2 separate regions of the Homo sapiens genome follow, and region 2 is linked to region 1. Evidence: promoter capture Hi-C in 16 types of primary human blood cells and fetal thymus (Javierre and others, 2016). All regions are on one chromosome and are shown on one strand. The core of a region is centred on a gene start or on the middle of the fragment in contact, and the rest is flanking DNA. Distances in the headings are between cores, read along the strand shown.

Region 1 (5,368 bases), core at 2,345-4,844:
ATGGTGGGTAAACTGTGACCATTTCCCTGTTATCTTCTATTTAAACGAGACCCCTAAAAAGGTTAAGGCTGGAAGCTATTTTGGGGATTGCTTGGTTCAGCCCTTCCCATGAGAGATGGGAAAATTGAAGCCCAAAGAGAGACAATTACTTTAATGTCCATGACAAGGTAAGGCTAAGCTCCTAACAGAGAACTTTCCTATTTCACTACATTAAGCTGTAGTTCTAACATGCAAGATCTCAGGAGTGAAAGTAACTTGGGAAAAACGGAGGACCCTGAAACTCCTGCTCAAGATGGTCTTTTCCCTTTTTATTCCACCAGGATCCTATCATTCCTCTGAAACTCTATTTCCTATGAATATTAGGTTGACAGAAAAGCAAATAAAACCACTGGCCAATTTAGGCAGCATTTCGAGCAGCCTGATTTGATGTCCTGCACACAAATTACTCTGGTGATCACTATTACCCAGACTCCAGTAACTTTGGAGAGCTTCGTTTTTAAAGCAGATCTCAGTTCTTTGAAATCTGGCTCATCTTCTGGACACGTCACGTGTCAGATGTCTTGTTCTCTAGAGCTCTCAAATGTGGTCTGAAATGGCAGGATTTGAAGAGGATGCAGATGTGGAGGGGAAAGAGACCAGAAGGGAATTACCTCCTGGTGGAACAGCCACTGCAGATACTTTTGGAGAATCCAGCAAGTGCCTGTGGGCAGAAGCTGAGGTCAAGACACCAGGGGACAGTAAGGAGGGGGCATCCATGGTGCCCCTAGCCCCCTGTACCCACCCCTCTCTCCAGCACTACCCTCGCACTGCCAAATTTCCCTTAACCAGGTGGGCCCCCTGAAGCCACCTCGAGGCCGGAGATCAGCTCACCGCCAACCCTACAATCATTTTGGATTTCAGAAGATCTTCTCAGCCAGCTGCTAGAAAGAAATGTAATTAGATGAGAAAAGTAATTCACATTAAAGCGTGGATGACTAAGTGTCTTGTCACTCCTAATGAACGCTGGCATTTTAAAATAAGTTTGCCTAAAATAAATCTCTCATTTGGGGAGGCGTGGGCCAAATCTTTTTTATATAGGGGAGGCTTTGGAAGTGAAAGTCCTCTGAAGCGCTGATTTCTACTTCAGGAGGCCACTTCCTTCTCTCTACCCCACCCTCGCCCTATTCCCCAGGCGCTGGGCCTGCACGGTGCTAGCTTCTGAAGGGTTGCCGGGCAAGGCTGAGCATTTTCAGAGCAGCCATTAGATGGCACTGGCAGCCAGTGACTGGCCCAGGTGCGCTTCGGCTAAAGGGGCAACTGAACGAGCTTTGGTCAACCTTGGTGTCCTCTCCTGGCTCCAAGGGACAGGCTGTTCCCATTGTACCCTGCCAGTGATCTATTCAAGTACACAGCCAGAACTTGGTGGACCAGGCAATTAGATTAAAGCTCCAAGTTGACCATAGCACATTTAGCTCTGAAAAATGCCCAGATGTTACAGTCACAGAAAAATGGTAGTTACGTATGTCACCAAATGCAAATGTAAAGTAACATATTAGTAAAGGAAAAAACAAAATCTTACAGGTCTGATAGTTCCCTCAATTATATTTCAATTCTTGTCAAAGATAACTACTCTGGAGTGATTTCCATTTGCTAGAAGCAATGACTTCAGGCCTTCCTGGAAAGCCCCAGAGAGCATTTCCCCTCCTTATGCCCTATGTGCTGTGTTGTACAATGTGGTAACATATTCACTCCCACCCTCTCAGAGCTTATATTCTGTTGCTAAACTGGTTAGATGGCTGCTATTGCTAAAACTTCAGATTCTTCCCTGAAAGATGGTCTTGTGTTTGTATTGTATATTTTGCTTATGTGTATGTGTATTTGCTTATGTGTATTTTCAGTTCTCTACAATGAACAAATAGTACCTTTTGTGTCATTTTTAAAGCAACAAATTATTGGGGAAATATCAAATGTTGTGCTTTTTTAAGTAGGGAAAGTATTATAATCCAAAAATGGAAAGCTCTGGAAAAATAGAAACTTGAAATTTGCTCATCCTGAGATTAACTTTATAGTAGAACTACACTTATTAGAACTTCATAGGTGTGAGGGGCTCTCTATGAGCTCAACAAATCATTTTGCTTGTTACTGTAAAACTGCACGCTGGCCATGACCTTTTGTAAAGATTAGAGGAGCACAGGGGCCGAGTTTTGTCCTTACACCATGACATACATGCATCGAGTCCTATAACAAAAGCATCAAAGGAACAGTAAGTCATTAAAGTGGCCATAATCTGTGCAGAGTTTATAAACTGACACACACACAAAAAAAATCCACACACACTTTTATTTTCCTTGGCTCCTTCCAGCCATTCTGTAAGAACCCTCCCTGCCCCATTTAAACATGAAGAATTTGGGGAATCCAAATGCCAAGTGGACTGTCTCTCCTTCGCTGGAAACGCCCCTTACCTGAGCCTTGATCATTCCAAATGGCTGCCCGTGCCCTCAACCCAGGATCTGCGCCATAAACCGTCCACCCCGGTTCTGTTGAGGGCATCCGAAACTAGACAGTGCGTTTCAGGATCTAGGACAGCTCCCGCCCCGGCCACCTGTTTTTAACCCCAGCTAGGTCTTGGAGAGAAGAGACCCAACTATTCTGCATTGTAATTGACCCAGTTATCATGTAATTATCATAGCGCGGCCACCTCGGGTGCGCTAAGGTGGGCAAGGAAACAAGGATTCAGGGGTCTGAATCCGAAAAAATCCGGAAGGCAGGGCGTTCATTATGACTTTTATCCTTTTCTCTGCTGCCCCGTTTCCAACATTAATTTGCGATAGCGTGTATGGAATTTGACTTTCAAGATGTGACACCTATCCTGGAAACTGGGAGCAAGAGATACTAAAAGACCGGGCTGGCCGGGGGCGGTGGCTCGCGCCTGTAATGCCAGAACTTTGGGGGGCCAAGGCGGGCGGATCACCTGTTGTCGGGAGTTTGAGACCAGCCTGACCAACATGGAGAAACTCCGTCTCTACTAAAAATACAAAAATTAGCCGGGCGTGGTGGCGCATGCCTGTAATCCCAGCTACTCGGGAGGCTGAAGCAGGAGAATCGCTTGAACCCGGGAGGCGAAGGTTGCGGTGAGCAGAGATCACCCCTTTGCTCTCCAGCATGGGCAACAAGAGCGAAACTCCGTCTCAAAAAAAAAAAAAAAGACCGGGTTGTCCCAAGACCTCCTAGCAAGCTCTCGGAGCCTCCGGACCGCCGCGAGCCCCTGGGGGAGAGGAGGCCGCCGGCTCCCTGGAGACAGCGCCTGCAGCTTCGCGGCCGTCCGCCCAGGGGCCGGACGTGGGCCCTCCAGCTCAGCTACTGGCGGCTTCTCATGCCGCAGTCGGCGCAGAAAGTTTGTCGAGAACTCGGGACCGCGGAGAGCCAGAGGCGCCCAGGTCCGCCTTCGGAGCCGGAGCCGGCCGACTGCATCGCGAGGACGGGGACAGGGGATCCCGGGGAAAGAGCACGGGTCCCCCACGCTGCGCCCTTACCTGTCTCGGGAGGCTGCTCTCTGAGGGCGGGGACGCTCGGCGGCCTCTCTCGGTCGCGGCTCTTCTTCCCCTCCTTCGCCGCCGCTTGGTCCCGCGCTCCTCTGTCCTTATATACTTGCCGAGCTCTCCTGGTGGGCGCGGGACTTTGACCTTCCCGGCAGCACAAGGAGCAGCTCCCCGGGCCAGGGGAAGGGGGGCCGCGGGGCGTGGGAGGGGGGCTTCCAGACGGGGGACGAGCGCGGGGAGACGCGCTGGAAAGGGGCTGGAATTAGCACTGTCCTGCCGAAGGCGCACCTGGCCGCTCGCCCTCAGGAAGAACTTAATTATGGATGGCGTTGGGTCTCCGCTTAGAACGGGCGGGAGGCTTAGCACCCCCGTGTGGGGCAGGCCGGGCAGCCTCTGAGGTCGTTGAGGCGAGGGTGAAGTTACCTGCGTGCGTGCTGGGGCTGGCATCTGCCTGGTTCGCATTTGGCGGTAAATATCACCGTCTGCACACGGGGAGGCCTCCGATTTCCCCATTGTTTGGAAACTGTGATGTGGAAGTCGTGGGGAATCATATTCTCTCTGTTCCACTTTGGGGAGGGGAGGAGGGAGCAGAAGTCAGGAGCCGTCTTGTGGGTGTGAAGGTGAGTTGCACTGCTCCCCTGGGGCCTGCTCTCCAAGGGCCTGGTTTAGGGGAGGCTCCCTTCCGTGTCCCAAGCCTCAAGGAAAAAGTCCTGTTAACCTAAACCATTAAATGGGGAGAGGGTGATGCTGTGAAGAGCAGCTGAAGTGCTTTCCCTGTGGCCTCTGATCCCTCCCTTTGCCATGAGCTGGCAGGGTGGTCTGGGGACTCAGACAATTTTCAACATCCCCCTTGGCCCTGGAGTTCTGGCTTGGCTTTAGTTCCAAATATCAGACCAGAGAGAAGAGTACAGCACTCAAACCAAGCTAAGAGACTCTACCTTAACCTGGAGTAAATAAACAAAACCAAATTGTGCGATGTGGTGGGTGTGGGAGGGAGTATTGGGACTAAACTGGACTTCAAATCAAGACACTTGCTTAATCTGCCAAATGCCAGAACTTTCCTGATTCCCCATGAGATGCTCTTTTGGACTCCAGGACTCTCTTGTGGATTCAGCTTTTCTGGTGACATTGGCTTTACATTCAGCAATCCTTTCCCTTTGGACCACAAGAGAGATCCAAGCTCCGTCACAGTAGACAAGGTGCTTCATCACCCGGCTTTGGCCCCTTTCCAGGGCCATTTCCCAGTTCTCCACCTTGCATCCTGGCACTTCAGCATCCACAACATTCACACTGCTAGAACATGGCTTTCTTGGGTCTCCATTGTCCAAGCTGTTCCCCCAACTAGAACATCCTTCCTCTCTCCAGCCATCCAGGAGCTTGACTCACATCAAGATGTAGCCCATCCATCAGCCCCTGTTCTCTGAAGCCCTCTTTGGCCACTTTTCCTACCAGGGGCATGAGGCATGACCTCCTCTGCCTTCCACAGAAGTCCATCCCCATCTTGTCAGTGCAAGTGGCTTGCACTAATTCACTTCTGTCCCCATTTTTTTAATCTTCCATCCACCCCACGACCACCATCAGGTTTGTAAACTCTTTCAAGCAGATGGTGGTTTTGCCTTATTTTACTTTGTGTTATTTTTGTAACTTCAGGAGGCTGCTGGTGGCAGCAGATAAAACAAACCAGGAAAAATCCAAATGGACCCAACTTCTTTAACTGGGTTCCTTCTTTCTTTTCTTCTCTCTCTCTCTCATTCTGTTTGTTTGTTTTTGAATTAGGGTCTCACTCTGTTGCCCAGGCTGGAATGCAGCAGTGTGAACACTGCTCACTGCAGCCTCCACCTCCTGGGCTC
Region 2 (7,198 bases), core at 1,499-3,998, 170 kb before region 1:
AAGAATTGAGGTTTGGGAATCTACACCTAGATTTCAGAGGATGTATGGAAATGCCTGGATATCCAGGTAGGAGTTTGCTGCAAGGATGGAGCCCTCATGGAGAACCTCTGCTAGGGCAGTGCAGAAGGGAAATCTGGGGTTGAAGACCCCACACCGAGTCCCCACCGGGGCATTGCCTAGTGGAGCTGTGAGAAGAGGGCCACTGTCCTCCAGACCCCAGAATGGTAGATCCACCGACGGCTTGCACCATGCACCTGGAAAAGCTGCAGACACTCAGTGCTAGCCTGTGAAAGCAGCTGGAAGGGGCGCTGCACCCTGCAAAGCCACAGTGGTGGAGCTTCCCAAGGCCATGAGAGCCCACCTCTTGCATCAGCTTGACTTGGATGTGAGACATGGAGTCATAGGAGATCATTTTGGAACTTTAAGGTTTAATGACTGCTGTTATTGGTTTGTGGACTTGCATGGGGCCTGTAGCCCCTTTGTTTTGGCCAATTTCTCCCATTTGGAATGGGTGTATTTACCCAGTGCCTGTACCCCCATTGTATCTAGGAAGTAACTAGCTTGTTTTTGATTTTACAGGCTCATTGGCAAAAGGGACTTGCCTTGTCTCAAATGAGACTTTGGACTTGGACTTTTGGGTGTATGCTGGAATGAGTTAAGACTTTTGGGGACTGTTGGGAAGGCATGATTATGTTTTGAAATGTGAGGACATGAGATTTGGGAGGGGGCAGGAGTAGGATGGTATGGTTTGGCTGTGTCCCCACCCAAATCTCATCTTGAATTTTAATCTCCATAATCCCCACGTGTCATGAGAGGGACCTGGTGGGATATAATTGAATCATGGGGGTGGTTTCCCCCATGCTGTTCTCATGATAGTGAGTAAGTTCTCACAAGATCTGATAGTTTTATAAGTGTCTGGCATTTCCCCTGCTGGCACTCATTCTCTCTTCTGCCACCCTGTGAAGAGGTGCCTTCTACCATGATTGTAAGCTTCCTGAGGCCTCCCCAGCCATGGGGAACTGTGAGTCAGTTAAACCTCTTTTCTTTCTAAATTACCCAGTCAAAATTATTTCTTCATAGTGATAGTGACAGGAGGCAGACAAATGCCTAAGCAGATAGGGGTGGGTCCCTGGTGAAACCCAACCTTCAAGCTGAAGACAGTCCCAGGTAAATTCTCAGACCAGATCAAAAACCTGTCTTCCCATTTGGTGCACTTTCCTCTGATGGATCCCACCCTTCACCTATTTTACGTATACCTACCCTTCCCTAATTGTTTTTTTTACACTGTCATGCCCATCTTTGAGTGGTACATTTTAGAGTAACCCTGCTTATTCCTGCGAACCAACCAGCAATCTCCAGCTGCAGTTCAGAAGAAACAAAAGGGCTGGGTAATGTAAAAATCTGGATCAATATTCTAGTTCTGGGCAATTATTCTGCAAATCCTGCCAGGTGATAGGAGTAAATTTATTAGATATAAAATCAATATTTCCAAATTGATTAGATTTCTAAAATAGCAGTAGACAGAAAATATAATTTGAAAATATCATTTACAGTAGCAACAAGCTACAACAAATATATCATACAAAGATTAGTAAAACCTCTAAGAGAAAATAAACTTTATTTAGAGCTGTTAAAGAATACCTAAGCCGGCCTGACGCAGTGGCTCATGCCTGTAATCCCAGGACTTTAGGAGGCTGAGGCGGGCAGATCATTTGAGGTCAGGAGTTCGAGACTAGCCTGGCCAACATGGTGAAACCCTCTCTGTACTAAAAATACAAAAATTATCTGGGTGTGGTTGTGCAGGTCTGTAATCCTAGCTACTCAGGAAGCTGAGGCAGGAGAATTGCTTGAACCCAGGAGACAGATGTTGCAGTGAGTTGAGATTGTGCCACTGCACTCCAGCCTGGGTGACAGAGTGAGACTCTTGTCTCAAAAAAAAAAAAAAAAAAAAAAAAAAAGAATACCTAAACTTGGCGCGGTGGCTCACACCTGTAATCCCAGCAGTTTGGGAGGCTGAGGCAGGAGGATTTCTTGAGCCCAGGAGTTCAAGACCAGCTGTGGCAACATAGTGAGACCCTGCTTCTACAAAAAATAAACAAAATCAGCCAAGCATGAAGGCATGTGCCTGTGGTCCCAGCTAGTTGGGAAGCTGAGGTGGAAGGATCATTTGAGCCTGGGAGGTTGAGGCTGCAGTGAGCTGAGCTCATACCACTGTACTCCAGCCTGGGCAACAGAGCAAGACCTTGTCTTAAAAAAAAAGAAAAGTAAGTAAATGAGAAGATATACCATATTCATTGTTAGCTAAAAGTGTAAAGATGTCAGTTCCCCTTAAATTAATCTATAGAACCAATGCTATTACAGGTACAATCCCAAAGAGAATTTGACAAGATGATTCTAAATTTTATGTGGAGGCACAAAGGATTGATAATAGTTAAGGCACTCCTAAAAAAGAACAAGTTGGGAATACCGGATATCCAGACTTATCTTAGACCCTCTAAGAGTAAATATAAGCTTGCCATCCATGTATTCAGATCCTCCAGAATCACACTCCACTTTATCTGTCCTATCTCATCTGCCTGTGCTCCTCAGCATGAAACGTTTGTTCCAGTCTGCTTGATCTCACGGTCTGCTGAATTTGAGCTGTGGCCACCTCCCTTTGCCTTTGCTCTTTCTGTTTTCCTTGCCTTTAATTTACTAACTCCTCCTTTCTATCAACCCCTGGCCTGGCCCTACTCAAATATTACCTCCAATATATTTATATATTTTTGGTTCTCCAGTTTACATAAGTCTCTTTCCTCCAAACTCTTATACCACTTTTTGGTTCTGCTATTTATTCTTCTATTTTTTTCATATATAGCATAGAAAGAGAGGAGAAAAGGGAGAAGGGAACACAGAGCTGGGCATTCAGAATTAGCCATATGTATGCCTGATACAGCTGATTAGGAGCTCTACAGTTTCCCTGAACATGGATCCAAGATCTGACAGAAAGCTTGCCAAGAGCCATTGAACACTCACCGGCTGACTTATATGGGAAGCGTCTTACAGCCTGATAAGATCTTACAGAATCGGTGGCAACCTGAAGTTGTTTTCAGGACATAAGAGCTATTTTTACCTCTCTTCATCTGGTTAACAGTTTGTCCATGAAAACAAAAAGACTAAAAACCCAGACACAACCTGAATGTCCACCAATAGGGGTTCTGGCTACATTACAGAACAACCACAGGCAGCTAGTTAAAAAAAAAGGGAGACAACTCCATGTGACTGACAGGGAATTATCACCAAGAGATAGATAAGAGAAAAAAAAATCAAGGTGCAAAACAACATCACCATGTGTGGCTTTTCTTGTTTGTTTGTTTGTTTAATACTCATGGTTTTGAACCTGCAGAGAGACTTTGGTAATTGTGGGTGCCTAAGAAGAGGGACTGAGGGTTGGAAGTTAAGAGTAGGAGACTGGCTTTCCACTGAATATCCTTTTACAACTTTTGTATTTTGTACCCTGTGTAACTATTGACTACTCAACAAATAAATGTTCAAGAGGAAATAAAAGGAAACAAAGATATTGAAAACAAACCAGCAAATTAGATGGTGTCAAAGGACAGAATTCTGACTTTTGTACTGTATCTTAGAAGACCAAAAGCAATGCCTAGCCAGGACAGCACGGTCCTCATTAAAACTAAGATGACCTTCTATCCTGACTTTCAGCTAAAGTGTGAAGTGGAGGAAGCACAGAGCTAAGCTATAGCTGCAAAATTCAGTACCTTTAAAAAGATACTTGCATCAGAATTATAACTGGGAGAGAATGGGTTGCTTAGCACTGGTTATTCCAGAAAGAGAACCAAATTACAAACCATGCCTGTAATCCCAGCACTTTCGGAGGCTGAGGCAGATGTATCACAACGTCAGGAGTTCGACACCAGCCTGGCCAATATGGCGAAACCCCATCTCTACTAAAAATACAAAAAAAATTAGCTGGGCATGGTGGCACATGCCTGTAATCCCAGCTACTCAGGAGGCCGAGGCAGGAGAATTGAACCCAGGAGGTGGAGGTTGCAGTGAGCCGAGATGGGGCCACTGCACTACAGCCTGGGCGACAGAGAGAGACCCTATCTCAAAAAAAAAAAAAAAGAAAAAGCCAAAAAATAACCCTTTGTAGTTGCAAACCACAAGCTAGTTATTTTTTTTGTTTGTTTGTTTTTTTTGTTGTTGTTGTTGTTTGTTTTTTGTTAATGGCACAATGAAGTCAGGGACTCAGGTTCTTTTTTTTTTTTTTTTTTGAGACAGAGTTTCACTCGTCGCCAGGCTAGAGTGCAGAGGCGCGATCTCAGCTCACCGCAACCTCCACCACCTGGGTTCAAGTGATTCTCCTGCCTCAGCCTCCCGAGTAGCTCGGATTACAGGTGTGCGCCACTACACCCAGCTAATTTTTTAATATTTTTGGTAGAGACGGGGTTTCACCATGTTGGCCAGGCTGGTCTTGAACTCCTGACTTCAAGTGATCTGCCCACCTTGGCCTCCCAAAGTGCTGGGATTACAGGTGTGAGCCACCGCGCCCAGCCCACATGCTAGTTTTTAACCCACTTCCTGCTGGAAGGAGAGAAGAGGTCTGTGACTTCTGCTCAGCTCCACCATGGAGACCAAATCAAGCAGGCTTTGGAACTGCTGCTTCAGGTGAATGGTAACCAGAAACCCAGGGAATTTATAGAAAGGGCAAGGTCAAAGAGCTGAGAAAAAGACTTAAGTCATGGTCAACACCTGCCAATGCAATGGTGTAGGCATGAAAGGGCTTGAAGGCTGAGAAATGCCACTAAACTAAGTGACAATCCCCAGCATCTCCCTTGAAAAGGTATTAATGGGCTTCAAAATAGAAAAACTGTTAGTTTGCTGTGAGGCTTCTTGTTTATTTATTTATTTATTTATCTATCTATTTATTTATTTATTTATTTTTGAGACAGAGTCTCGCTGTGTTGCCCCAGATGGAGTGCAGTGACGTGATCTTGGCTCATTGTAACCTCTGCCTCTGCAGGCGATTCTCCTGCCTCAGCCTCCCGAATAGCTGGGATTATAGGCGTGTGCCACCACACCCAGCTAATTTTTGTATTTTTAGTAGAGATGGGGTTTTGCCATGTTAGCCAGACTGGTCTCAAACTCCTGACCTCAAGTGATCCACCCCTCTCAGCCTCCCAAAGTGCTGAGATTACCGGCGTGAGCCACCGCGCCTGGCTGAAGCTTCTTTACAACTATAAGTAATTAAGTATGGCAGGATGGATGGATAATTTTTGGGATTCAAATGTCAGATTCATAATCATATTGTTCAGCAAGGAAAGGAAAGCAGGTCCACTGATGTGTTCGTGCAAGAATAGCTATTAACAGGGGTCCATGGAACAAGGTCTAGAGGATCTTGGCACTTAAATCAAGATAAGGTTTTTTTATATTAAAAATATTTAATAAAGACATTATCACAACCTCTACAGTCCCAATGAATTCTCAGAATTGGTGAATTTTACAGGGCTAAAGAAGAGAAAAAGAAACCAGAATATCCCTTAGAAAAAGTGAACACGTGGCAGAATTAAGGTCTGGAGTAGCAAAACAAATGGTATAGGTGGGCCTCTGCCACTTATCCAGATCTCTGGCCAGTGAGTTTCAGTGCATGGGGGCCAGTTGATCTCCAACCCCAATCGGAGTTCTGGTGAGCCAGCTGGGCTCAGATGAGAGACTTCACAGCCTGATTTGCTTTCAGCGTGAGAGAGTATGTCATAAGCAGTATCACTGTGAATATTTGGCCACTTATTTTTTGGCATTTTTCACACCCCAATTTATTGACCACATTTGAAGCTTGGGGAGATGAGAGATGGCCCCATATTTTCTTTTGCTTTGGCAAAGAAGACCATCTAATGGGAGCCTGCAGTCTTGAGGATTTTTGCCTAGTGAACATATCCCTTCTTGCCTGTGACTGTGCAATTTCTAGAGAATTTCCCCATTCTTCAACCTTAAGGATTTCAGGCACAAGGTATGAATCACTAAGAATCTAGCAGCAGCTCTAGAAGCCTCCAAAGATAATTGCACTTCCCCAACAGGGGGACGGGGGTGGAGTGTAAATATGAAAGAACAGTGGATGGCCTAAATCAGTATGTGTCACTCTTTGTAAAGAGCCACAAGTGTTTGACTAGGGAAAAAGGAAAAGAGGCGAGAGTAACGAGAAAGAGACACCAAGATCGAGAGGAATGGGGGAAAGGAGATCTCTATGAGGTGTTACTGTGAGTCATGGATAGGTTTTTATTAATAGACTCTGAAGTATATAAATAGAATTGGAATTCCTTTTATTTTATTTTTTTTGATATGGAGTCTCTGCTGCCCAGGCTGCAGTGCAGTGGCACAATCTCGGCTCACTGCAACCTCTGCCTCCCGGGTCAAGTGATTCTCCTACCTCAGGATTACAGGCGTGGGCCACCAAGCCCGTCTATTTTTTTTATTTTTAGTAGAGCCGGGGTTTCACCATGTTGGCCAGGCCGGCCTTGAACTCCTGACCTCAGGTGATTCACCTGCCTCGGCCTCCCAAAGTGCTGGGATTACAGGCGTGAGCCACTGTGCCCAGCCTGGAAATCTTTTTAAATACTTCTTGTTGGTGACCACTGTTTATTTGACTGTGACATCATGCAGATACATGGGACCATGGAGCTCAGGCCTCCCTTTGGGTCACACTAGGCTCCTGAAAGGTGACAGTGTAACAGTAGTGCAGTAAATGGGCAAGTGGGTTCATTGTTCTTGGAGAATGAGAGACTGGATTGAAATAAAGAATACGAGTGGGCTGGGTGTGATGGCTCACGCCTGTAATCCCAACACTTTGGGAGGCCAAAGCAGGAGGATCACTTGAGGTCAGGAGTTCAACACCAGCCTGGCCAACATGCTGAAACCCCATCTCTACTAAAAATACAAAAATTAGCCAGACCTGGTGGTGCATGCCTGTAGTCCCAGCTACTCAGGAGGCTGAGGCAGGAGAATCACTTGAACCCAGGAGGTGGAGGTTGCAGTGAGCCGAGATTGCACCACTGCACTCCAGCCTGAGCAACAGAATGAGACTCCGTCTCAAAAAAAAAAAAAAAAAAAGAATAGAAGTGGTTGTGTGGTTTAAAAAAGCAAAGTCCAGGAGTATGGAAGTAGACATGGCTTTATGCATAGGCCGGAGAGAATGTCACCAAGG

Evidence for each region. The method cuts DNA at HindIII sites, captures the fragments that hold promoters and counts their contacts. A CHiCAGO score of 5 or more calls a contact.
Region 2: a fragment that was not itself captured here is called in contact with the fragment with the promoter of POMC in region 1 in 1 of 17 cell types (M1 macrophages); the score reaches 5.3 in M1 macrophages.

The regions. Positions count from the first base shown.
Region 1 is chr2:25,164,986-25,170,353 of GRCh38, forward strand. It overlaps POMC (proopiomelanocortin), which reads right to left and starts at 3,595. Exons shown (of 3, transcript NM_000939.4): 1 at 3,513-3,595. RefSeq lists a promoter at 3,469-4,281, cis regulatory regions at 3,620-3,632, 3,698-3,871, 3,872-3,897 and an enhancer at 3,692-3,711. The HindIII fragment of the contact is 11,223 bases long and covers 1-5,368 here.
Region 2 is chr2:24,990,989-24,998,186 of GRCh38, forward strand. All of the region lies in intron 1 of DNAJC27-AS1 (DNAJC27 antisense RNA 1), which reads left to right. Among named protein-coding and RNA genes, the nearest start is that of DNAJC27-AS1, 22 kb to the left of the region's middle. The HindIII fragment of the contact is 478 bases long and covers 2,510-2,987 here.